Regions from separate parts of the Homo sapiens genome. Here all the other regions are linked to region 3. The links are contacts of gene promoters, found by promoter capture Hi-C in blood cells and fetal thymus (Javierre and others, 2016). All regions are on one chromosome and are shown on one strand. Each heading gives the region's core, a stretch centred on a gene start or on the middle of the fragment in contact. The rest is flanking DNA. Distances are from core to core; before and after follow the strand shown. Region 1 overlaps ASAP1 (ArfGAP with SH3 domain, ankyrin repeat and PH domain 1). Region 2 overlaps CYRIB (CYFIP related Rac1 interactor B). Region 3 holds the start of CYRIB (CYFIP related Rac1 interactor B).

Evidence for each region. The method cuts DNA at HindIII sites, captures the fragments that hold promoters and counts their contacts. A CHiCAGO score of 5 or more calls a contact.
Region 1: a fragment that was not itself captured here is called in contact with the fragment with the promoter of CYRIB in region 3 in 1 of 17 cell types (neutrophils); the score reaches 6.1 in neutrophils.
Region 2: a fragment that was not itself captured here is called in contact with the fragment with the promoter of CYRIB in region 3 in 14 of 17 cell types (total CD8 T cells, naive CD4 T cells, neutrophils and 11 more); the score reaches 16.7 in total CD8 T cells.

The regions. Positions count from the first base shown.
Region 1 is chr8:130,121,363-130,125,011 of GRCh38, reverse strand. ASAP1 (ArfGAP with SH3 domain, ankyrin repeat and PH domain 1) reads left to right here. Exons shown (of 30, transcript NM_018482.4): 18 at 908-999. Among named protein-coding and RNA genes, the nearest start is that of ASAP1-IT2, 38 kb to the right of the region's middle. The HindIII fragment of the contact is 6,155 bases long and covers 1-3,649 here.
Region 2 is chr8:129,909,108-129,913,076 of GRCh38, reverse strand. All of the region lies in intron 2 of CYRIB (CYFIP related Rac1 interactor B), which reads left to right. Among named protein-coding and RNA genes, the nearest start is that of MIR5194, 97 kb to the left of the region's middle. The HindIII fragment of the contact is 2,805 bases long and covers 890-3,694 here.
Region 3 is chr8:130,015,048-130,018,720 of GRCh38, reverse strand. It overlaps CYRIB (CYFIP related Rac1 interactor B), which reads left to right and starts at 2,161. Exons shown (of 14, transcript NM_001353258.2): 1 at 2,161-2,351. RefSeq lists silencers at 1,949-2,008, 2,059-2,128, 2,219-2,408, 2,599-2,868. The HindIII fragment of the contact is 5,812 bases long and covers 558-3,673 here.

The DNA of each region.
Region 1 (3,649 bases), core at 170-2,669, 110 kb before region 3:
GTGATCTGTCTTGTGTTCTATGCACAATACAAGACATTCCTTCTAATTTAGAATGTAGGAAGTTACCATGCTGATACTCGGCTCCCTAGTTCACTTCAGGATTGTAGAGAAAAGACACAGACCTATTACCTGTAACACATTCTTTAGTGCAGAAATGATGTCCCTCATCTCCTTGACCTGTATTAATGAAACCCAGTTTGACAACAAGAAAGAGGAAAGTCCAAATCCTAAACGTTTGCCATGCAATAAACCCAAGACTTTTTCCCTCAAAGACATGGTTGCATGTATGTTTCTTAAACTTTGCATCCCAAAATTACATAAAATGATTAGAGGCCCTTCAGAACAAATTTTCTTAGAATGCTCTTGAACCCAGAAGCAAAATGGTTCCTGGGTCCTCTGCTGCCTGCAGCATCTTAATCTGTATCCAGATATAAAGTAATCCTGTGTCCTTTTCTGTCCTGGGAGTAAATTTGTTCAATATAAAAAGGAAACATGATGGTGGTTGATAAGCTATTGCTGTTTATTAAAAGTTTAACCTAGACTCACATATGGAGCCTGCTCTCTGTAATCTCATATAGTTTATATGTGTGTAGAACCAGATTCTGTTCTAGCATTTATCACATATTTGTAGACATGATTGATTTCCTTGTCAATGGCCCCACTAGACTATGAGCATCTATGGAAAGGGAACATAGTTTACCCATCTCTGTATTTCCAGCACTTAGTTTGGTGCTTGGCACGTAGTAGATGCTCAGTAAATATTTGTAGACCAGATGGACGGTGGTTTGTATTCTAAGTCAAATGAGGGAAAATACATATTCATAAATCTCAAAAACAAATAATAGGAGACTTTTAACTAGTAGCAAAGAGTTTGCTATATTGTGGTTGTTTGTTTTTTCTGTTACAGCTGGCCAAGAATGTAGGAAACAATAGTTTTAATGATATTATGGAAGCAAATTTACCCAGCCCCTCACCAAAACCCACCCCTTCAAGTGATATGTAAGTATTTCTGATATATTGAACTTTTTTAAACCATTCTATAATTGTTTTTCTACCCTTCCAAAAAACTTCTTTTTTTTTTTTTGGCTGGGTGCAGTGGCTCACGCCTGTAATCCCAGCACTTTGGGAGGCTGAGGCAAACGGATCACGAGGTCAGGAGATCAAGACCATCCTGGCTAACACGGTGAAACCCGTCTCTATTAAAAATTTTTTAAAAATTAGCCGGGCGTGGTGGCAGGCACTTTGTAGTCCCAGCTACTCGGGAGGCTGAGGCAGGAGAATGGCATGAACCCGGGAGGCGGAGCTTGCAGTGAGCCGAGATCGCACCCCTGCACTCCAGCCTGGGCAACAGTGCGAGACCCCATCTCAAAAATAAAAGAAAGTCTTTAGTTTTTTACAGTGTTTGTTTGTTTGTTTGTTTGTTTTCCAGAGCAAACCCCATTGTCAGGGGAAAGCAGAACAAAGAAAAGTATTTAGAAATGTATTTCCGGGATGCACAGATTCTTTTCACCCTCACCTTCCCCTAGGTTGTTGCAGCTGCGCACCTGCTCTGTGAAGCACAGATTGTCATGGGGGCAGTTCTCTCAAAAACATGGCATATTGTGATGAGTAAGAGACATTCAAAGACAATGGGAGATTCCTTTTAGCCTGGCAAAAATCCAAATGCTTAAAAACCCACTCAGCAAGACTGTGGGGAAACTGACATTCTGTCTCATAATATTGCCAGTGGGAGTACAAAATGGTACACTATGAAAAACAAATTAACCATATTTACCAAAATTATAAATGTACTTACCCTTTGACTCAGCAGTCCCACTCCTGGGAATTTATTCCTATTCTGTAATGCAAAAAGATTAGGAACAAAACAAGTATCCATCTGTAGGCATCTGATGAAATACTCTATGGTAGAGCCACACAACAGAACACTATGCAGATGGAAAAAAAAAGCACAAATTACACTGAAAAGGCTTTTCAAAAGTTAATTTGATTGTAAAACTACCATGAACAAATAAGACCTAAGTTTTACTTTACCAGCTTGATAACAGCAAGTGCTCAAGCACATACACAGTGCACTCTTGTCCACACCAGCATTTTTTAAATGTTTGCATGACCCAAACCTTGAAGGCACAGCTGCCAGATGAATGTCATAACAACATGGGTTTTTATGTCCTGTTTCTCATGTGGGAAGCAGCATCAGCGCCACCTGGTCAGCTTTGTGCCTCATCTAGTCATTTGGCCTCTGTAAGACTTTCACCTTCAAAATGTCTGTGATTCTCCAATATCTCTAATGTAGTGGTTAGGGTCATAGATTTTGAAGCCAGACTGCTGGAGTTCATATCATAGCTCTGCCACTTCCTAAACTATGTGACCTTGGACAAGTAACTTTAATTGTCTGTGCCTTAGTTTCCTCATCCAGAACATATATCTACCTCATAGGGTTGTGGTGACAATTAAGGGGCTTGAATAAAAAGTGCTTGGAGCAGCATTTGGTCTATAGTTAGTGCTGTATAAGTATCTGTTATTATTATTATTGGTCTGTAGTAAGTGCTGTATAAGTATTTACTACTACTACTATTATTACTTCCTTGTTTGGCCAGTGACCCAGAAGCATAAAGTGAACCTCTTGTAACATGCAGTTTGATCACTCATTTAGTTGTTGATCAAATCCTTACGAGGCAGCTTCCCTACTTCAGCCAGTCTTGTAGGTGCTGAAGATACAGTAGCAAACAAGACAGAGTTTCTGTCCTGCTTACATTCTGAGGAGATGAAAACACAGGGAATTAAAAAGTCAGTCATACAATTACACATTGTATTAGGTGTTATGAAGAAATTACAACAAGAGGAGGTGTTGAAGTGTGTGGGGAATGGGGAGAGGGTATTTTTTTCAAGTTGAAGGTGGGGAAAGTGCAGAATTGAGGGGCATGAAGGCACCCTCCCTGGGGGGAAGCAGCCAGGCAGCTGGAACAGGTCATATGGGTGCCCCAAGGGGCAGTAAGGCATATTTGAGCTATGTCATGAAGGAAGATGTGGCGGGAGAGAACTGAGCAAGAGGGAGATGCAGGGGAATGCTGGGCAAGATAGAGGTGGAGCCAGATCGTGTAGGTCATGGACTGCCTGGGGATTTGATTGTAAGTGTGATTGAGAGGTTTTAAACAGGAGTGGCGTGATCTGAGTTATTTTCTAAATTGATCGTATGTTCTTTTTTTTTTTTTTTTTTTTTTTTTTTTGAGATGGAATTTCACTCTCATAGCCTAGGCTGGAGTGCAGTGATGCGATCTTTGCTCACTGCAACCTCCACCTCCCGGGTTCAAGTGATTCTCCTGTCGCAGCCTCCCGAATAGCTGGGATTACAGGCATGCGCCACTATGCCCGACTAGTTTTTTGTATTTTTAGTAGAGAAGGAGTTTTCTCCATGTTGATCAGGCTGGTCTCAAACTCCCGACCTCAGGTGATTCACCCACCTCGGCCTCCCAGTGTGCTGGGATTACAGGCATGAGCCACTGCACCCAGCCTCTTAAACTGATCATATGATATTGGTTCTCAACCAAGGGTGACTTTGCCCCCAGAGGATACTTGGCAATGTCTGGAGATACTCAGTTGTCATGACTTGGACAGGTGCTACTGTCACCCAGTGGGTAGAGGTCAGGGA
Region 2 (3,969 bases), core at 1,043-3,542, 110 kb after region 3:
TGATGTGATCCCAGGAGGCGGAGCTTGCAGTGAGCCTAGATCATGCCACTGCACTCCAGCCTGGGTGACAGAGCAGTCTCCGTCTCAAAAAAAAAAAAAAAAAAAGTGAAGCAGATTCCTGAAAGTCATGGTATTGCATTGTAGGATTCACTTTTGCGCTTTGTATTTAAATTTATCAGCAGTAGAGATAACTTTAACAGCAGTAGAGAACACACTTGTTTTCTGTCACCGTAAACATGACACACAGATTAGGAATTCACTGAATCATTTTACCTGAACCACTCTTTAATATGCCTTCATTAGTTCATCCTGTTGATTATCATATAGAATTGTTTGAAAAAAAAATGACTTGCAAGAAAAGAAAGCCCCAGCCTGGGCATCCTAATAAGACCCTGTCTCTAAAATAAAAAAATAAAAATAAAGGCAAATTTAAAAAACCCAAGTCTTTGTTTTCATTGAAATGCACCTTCTCTGTTCCCAGTCCTCCCCTTCCCCCAACCCCAGAGTGCATCTGTGCATCTTTTGAGGTAATTATATGGCTTTTTTCTTTTAATCTGTTAGGGTGGTGAAAACAGTAGGTATTCTGAACCAACCTTGCACTTCTCAGGTAAGCCAAACTTGGTCATAATTAAAAAAAAAAAAAAACTTTGTAATTTCAGATAACTGCAGCATTGGACTAGAGGTGGAGAGAGTGGTACTGGGGGAGTGGTGAAGCAGGTGAGAAGCTGGAAGGAATGGTCATTTCAGTGCTAGTGCAGTTTGCAACTTCAGATAATTTTGGAGCATATATATATATATTTAGCAGGATGTATAAATTCAACTATTTGATCTTTTATGAAATCGAACCTGGGGTAAATTTGGAGCGTGTATATATATAAACTGTAAAGCTTTATTTGCCTTATGTTATTACCTCTGTTTGTATTTACCATTCCTTTAAAATTATGTGTGTAAATGTTATAAGGGGGTTTGAACATGTGGGGTAGATTAAATGAACACTAAAAATTCTTTCTTTTAACTAGCATTTAATTTTACAGAGTTTGAGCTTATAGAGCTGCAAAATAAGGTACTTACTTGTTTTCACAGAACGTATCTTAAACCTGTGGAATCTTTAGGTTAGCACGATTGCAGCACCTGCCATCAAAAATGCATTTTACAGTCTCTCCATGGCTGTATGTTCCAAAACTTAGCTGAGTTGAAGTATCAGAAAAGTCCCATTGTAGATGGTCAGTAATCAGGGCAAGATATTGACAGTAACCAGGAGATCCAGAAGTAAGAAGGTTCTGTATAATGTCCTCAAAGCCTGGTGAGCCTTTTAATTTAGCCCTTGCCTCAGGTTTTTCATAATTGAAAACAGCATTATTGCTGTTGTAGGTTTTGTTTGTTTTTATTTTTGTTTTTTTTTTGCACACCACCACAGTCGGGCTAATTTTTGTATTTTTAGGAGGGACAGGGTTTCACCATGTTGGTCAGGCTGGTCTTGAACCCCTGACCTCGTGATTCGCCCACCTTGGCCTCGCAAAGTGCTGGGATTACAGGTGTGAGCCACCGCGTCCGGCCGTGGGTTATTTTTTTAAAGAATCATTTTTAATTTTACAATAAAAGAAGTTAGTGGAAAAGTAGTATTTGTTTTACAAGAAATCACATCTACAGAAAGGAATATTATAATAAATATTGAACAAGATTGTTTCCTGAAAAGTAATTTTCTCCCTCTGTTCCCTTCCTCATTTCTGTCCCTTCCGCTCCTTTTCCCAATTCCTTACCCTCTAGTCATGACCTTGGACAAACTACTTAACCTTTTAAAGCCTCTGATTGCTCATCAATGAAAAGGGTTTAATTTTAACCTATTAGGTTCACAGGCTTATGTGAAATATATCATGCAGTACAGTGTCTAAAACATAGGAAGTACTTAGAAAAAGGCAGCTGAGTAGAAAGGGACAATTTTAAAAGACTGTACCTCACTTTATACATTTATATTGAGTATCTGATCAAGGAAGTTCAGATTTGATAGTTATTTCCTTAAAAATACATAAGGCCTTGATAGAAAATGGGAAGGACTAAGTTACACAATTGTGGAGGAAAAAATAGCTGGCCTCAGTAGTTAACAAAACAATGGGAGAGAGGCCGGGCAAGGTGGCTCATGCCTATAATTCCAGCGCTTTTGGAGGCCAAGGAGGGAGAACACCTTGAGGCCAGGAGTTCAAGGTTACAGTGAGCTATGATTGTACAACTGCATTCCAGCCTGGGCGACAGAGCGAGACCGTGTTTCTCTTGTTTGTTTTTAGAATTAGGGTCTTGCTCTGTTGCCCATGTTGGAGTGCAGTGGCACTCATAGCCCACTGTGGCCTTGAACTCTTGCGCTTAAGCCATCCTCTTGTCTCAGCCACACATGTAGCTGAGACGACAGTTGTATGTTACTAGACCTGGCTGTTCATTTTAATTTTTGTGTGTATATGGTCTTGCTATGTTGTCTTGTCTGTTCTCAAACTCCTGGTCTTAAGTGATCCTCCCACCTCAGCTTCCTGAAGCGTTGGAATTATAGGCAGGAACCATTGCACCTGGCCCTTGTCTCTTTAAAAAAAAAAAAAAAAAAAAAAAAAAAGTGAAAGAAGGCACCACTTGTCAAGGATGCTGTGAAGTTGGCCAGTGCATCATTCTGATGGTAGTGTTAATTAGAATGTATCTTTGGACAGCAATTTGGCACTAGGTATAAAGACCTTGATGTATCCTAAACATTTTTAAGTTATTTCAACAAAGATATATGTTCATAGCTAAGATAATTATTCAAGGTGTTCACATGGCCCTCTGCACAAGGGGTGCCACACCTGTGGGTGTATCAGACATGAGATAGACATGTCACTTTGAGAAGACCGTGGGTGAGTGAAGGGATTCTGGGCCTTCTGGCCACATCTTGGAGCCAGGAGTTCCAGGTTACAGTAAGTTGCCTGGTACATAAACCCATACTAGCACCTATGGCATGCGAAGACTCTGGAGAGCTCCTGTGAGGACACTCTGTCCATGCAGGTGGTTACAGCATGGTCTTGTCCAGACTGAGCTCCAGACTCCAGGCATCCCCTGAGGTGATGTCTTTCGCTAACTTGCCCACCACTCCAGTCTGACAGAAACTGATCTGGTAGTCTCATTTGAGAAATTTGGGGCAAGGGTGCCTGGCACTGGCTTAGGTATGTTTATGTGCCTTAATGTTCAGGGATTATGTTTGTCAGTAGGCAAGAGCGTGACCCTTGTGTGCAGGGGCATGTGTATGCACAGCCAGGGTGTTTGCTTGCTGGGGTTCTTAAACCCCAACCCAGGCAGAGCTATATTGTGTAGTTGTTGAGGTTGTGTAATAAAATAATAGTTCATAAACGTTTTTATATTAGACTGGGATAACTTCTTCTAATCTCACAAAGTCTTTATGTGCTTATGGAAGTCTTGGGCATATAGCATCGTTTAAAAGAGCAAAAGGTTAGAAAAACCTGAATGTCCAGCAGTGAGAAAATGCTTGAAAAAATGTGGTACAACCATATGATGAGTTGGTATGTAAAGACTAAAAGTGGTATTTTGGCAGAGTTTTTAATGATGTGAAAATATTGCTCATGATGTGAATGATAAAAAGCAGTACAAATACAAAGAAAGGGTGTTAAATTGTATAAAAATATACATAAAAGAAATTAGAAGAGAATAAATTGTTAAAGCTTTGGTTGTGGGATTATAGGTAGTGGTACTTGTTTCTTTCCACTTTCTTTATGTATTTTGTGTAGTGAGCATGTTTTACCCTTATAATAAAGGGGAAAATTAAGATTGTAAAAACTTTTTAGACTCTACAAAAATCAAGTCATGTTCTGAAAGCCTGGCATTACCTAGGCAACTGTTACTGCAATTTACTTTTTCCTGGAGGTAATTAAAAAAAAACTTTAGAGATAATTAGAAATGTTGGTATTTCAAATCTTCTGGAGCATGGGTTTACAATAG
Region 3 (3,673 bases), core at 912-3,411:
AAAAAAAAAAAGGTAAATTGTAACAGTTATGATAATAGTAACAACAATGGTGATTGCTTTCTCCTGGGTCCTATCCATATTAGGTTCTATATATTCGCTATTTCATTTAACCCTCACCATAACCTAACGAAGTCATTATTATCCATTCCATTTCACAGATGAACAAACTGAGGCTGAGAGTGGCTAAGTGCTTGGGCTCTGGAGTCAGACAATCTAGGTACATACCCAGCTCCACCGCTGTCTAATCTGTGTGATCTTGGGCAAATCTCATCTCTCTTCCAGCTGCAGTATCTTAATGCATGACACTGGGCCATGATAAACCTGCTTCATGGGCCTGCACACACTTGGCACCTGCTTAGTACTTTATAAATGTTCAGAATTGTTAATGCTCATTTTATAAGCGGCTCAGCTCTGCCTGCTTCCAAACCCTTTTCCTGCTTCTCCTCAAGGTCATAGTTCAGGACCCAGTGTTTCCCCACCTACTTCTCAGCCCCCACAGCAAGGTGGACATTAGTTCCCTTCCTTTAGGAATGAAGGCACTGGCGCTCGGGTAAGCTTAGAGAGCAGTCCAGGGAGTACTGCTGAAATGGCACCATCTCAGGGTCCCCAGCTCCGAGAACTGGGCCTGGCCAAGAGAAGGCGCAAGGCACCTTTGTTAAAGAATTGGCGGGCTGGGTGTGGTGGTTTATGCCTGTAATCCCCACACTTTGGGAGGCGGAGGCAGGGAGGATCCCTTGAGCCCAGGAGAAACAGGCCAGCCAGGGCAACACAGGGAGACCCACCTCTACAAAAATCTATAAAAATTAGCTGAGCATGGTGGTGCATACCCGTGGTCCCAGCAACTCGGGAGGCTGAGGTGGGAGGATCGCTTGAGCCCAGGAATTTGAGGCTGCAGTGAGCTATCGCATCACTGCGCTACCTAGCCTGGGAAACAGAGCAAAATCCTGTCTTAGACAAAAAAAAAAAAAAGAAAGAAAAAAGAAAAGAAATGGAACAACTGGCTCCTAATCAGGTAACTCAGCACTGAGTATGATGTGAGCACACTCCAACCCCCCTATAGCTGGAGGTGGAGGTGGAAAGACAATGGAAGCCTTTGATGTAACCCTTTTGATACCCTGCTAGAGGACAGCAGAAAGATACTTGAGAGAATGTTGTCTATCTTCCCGAGAAATTTCTGGTTGAATGTCAAGATAATGATAGGATGGGCTTCTGGGCCAGGGGAGCAAGGCAGAGGGAAGGAGAGTATCAGTTTCCTAGGCATGTCCTGTTACAGGGAGAAAAACACAGTATTTTCCATTCTAGATCAGGGGAAAGATGAGGTCTCCCATAATACCTGAAACTGGAATTATGGCGAGGAGCTTTTTATGTGGGAATTTCTGTACTAAATTTAAAGTCCTTGGAGAACCGCTTAGGGTAGCACCGACAGCCCGCACCGTCCCCTCACCCCGCTTTATTTTTCCTCTGGCACAGCACTTAGCACCATAGGACCCATCAGATATTTACGGCCTGTCCCCGCTGCCCCTCCCGGGCAGGGATTTTGTTTTGGTTCGCAGCTGCAGCTCCAGGGCCTAGAACAGCCCGGGCACTTAGTAGGCCCAGTAAGTATCTGCGGGAGGGCTGAATGGGTGCGTGGACAGCATTCCTCTCACTGACCCCGCTGCGAGGTGAGCCAGGCAGGGGCTGTCACCATTCCTGAAGTCCAGGTGAGGGGGAAGCGACCCAGGGATGGGAACCTGGCCGGCCTGAAGGTCTGGAGACCGGGGTTCGAGCCCAAGCCCTGCCTGACAGGCAGTGACCTTGGGGGTCACTCTTGCGCCTCTCGGAGCCGGGTTTCCTCCTCGCACAATGAGGGCGATGACCCCCAATCGCAGCGCGCCCCGCGGTGACTTGCCCAAGGTCACCACCGTCCCGGGCCCGTGGCGCCCCGGCTCGGGAGGACACGGGCCAGGCGGGCGCGGGGTTCTGGGGTGGGGGCCGGCGCGGGGCGGTCCCGGGGCGCGGCGCGCGCTGACGCCGGGGCCCCGCGATGCGGCGGGGACTGGGCGCGGGGGGAGGCGCGTCGCGAGGCGAGCGTCCTCCTTTTGTGCGAGCGCCGGCGGCTCGGCTTCTCGAAGGTAAACAGCGCTTCCTCTTCCTCCTCGCCGCGCCTCTTCCTTTTATAGTTATTTCTCGCCTGGCACTCGCCCGGGCTGCTGCTGCTGCTGCTGCTGCCGCCGCGGCGGGGGCAGCTCGCAAACCTGTGGCGGTGACGTGAGCCCCGCCAACCCGGAAACGGCGGCGGCGGCGGCACCGGAGGCTCCGAGGCTCCTGCGCTCCCGCGCCGCGCTCCCCTCGCCCGCCCGGGCCGCCAGGTACGTGCCGGGGCTCTGAAGGCGCCGCCGCCCGGCCGGCCCGCGCGCGCGCCCCTGGATCCGATTTGCCCCCGGAGAGGGCGCGGGGTGCGGGGCGCGCGCGTGATGGGTGCGGGGAGAGGCGGAGGTACCATCCGGGCCGCCGGGCCGGGCGCTGCGGCGGGTGGACAGGGGGCGCCGCCGTGGTGGGGGCGTCCGGGCCGGCGGGCGCGGGGGTCCCGGGGGAGGCGCCTCGAGTGCGCGGGGGGCGGCGGGCGGACGCGAGGGGAGCGCGCAGCGGGGCCGCCGCCCGGGTCCACCCAGCTGCGGAGCCGGCGCCTTGTGCGCCTCGAGGCAGGGGGCGCTCGGGTCGGGGTGGCTGGTCCCTGGCAGACCCTTCCTGCGAGCCGGGTGTCGGTGCGGGGACTGACCCCGGGAGCAGCGCTGGCCCCCGGCCACCTCCCATCAGGGGCTTGGAAGACCAGTCGCATTGGATTTGAGGAACTAGAGGGGGTGAACAAAATCTCCACTGGCCTCAAGACTTCCTCCTGGGGTAGCCACCCGCCTGTGTTTAAAGAGCACTTCCTCTTCGCCTTTTATCTTTTCATTATCTTTCTTTTTAAATGGAAGTTCAGTGTTAGCGGGTGGGTGCCCTTGCAGCCTGCAGGGCTTTCCTGGGGCTGTGTACACACACACTGGGGTTGGGAAAAACCTGTGTGTCCTTTGAAACGTGTGTCCTGTGTCAGGAGTGGAACGAAGGAGGAATCGAGGTCTTACCATGCTGGAGCTACTTGGAGTGTGCCTTTGCTACCCACCCTGCTGCAAGAGGTGGAGGGGTGCGGAGGGATAGAGCTGGGGCTGCGGGGGAGTGTCACATGCACTTTGCAGCTATGTTTAATTCCTGGCCCTGCCGCTTACTAGCTGTGTGACCTTGGGCAAGTCGCTTACCCTCTCTGAGTCTTAGGGTCCCGTCTGTGAAATGGGCTGCTGCGAGTGGGGCCTTGAGAAAACGAGCGTAGATTTCCTGGCCTGCAGGGGGCGCAGTGATAGAAAGTGTCATTGCCAGTCACCTTGAATTTCTGCATCCCCAGCACCTAGAAAGGGTGCGTTGAAGCACGTGGGAAGCACCCCATAGATAATTGTGAGATGAACGAGTGGGTGGTGAATTTTGAGAGGTGAGTCGGTGTGCTTCCACATTTTGGCTTCCTTGCCCTGTAACATCCATCCAGGATCTCCAGGGAGCAATTTTGCTATCTGGGTTGGATGGACTCCTCCCCTCTCTGAGGAAGACCATCTTGTGAAAATACTGACTCCCTTGTGAAAAAGGGCTTAAACTCTGACTT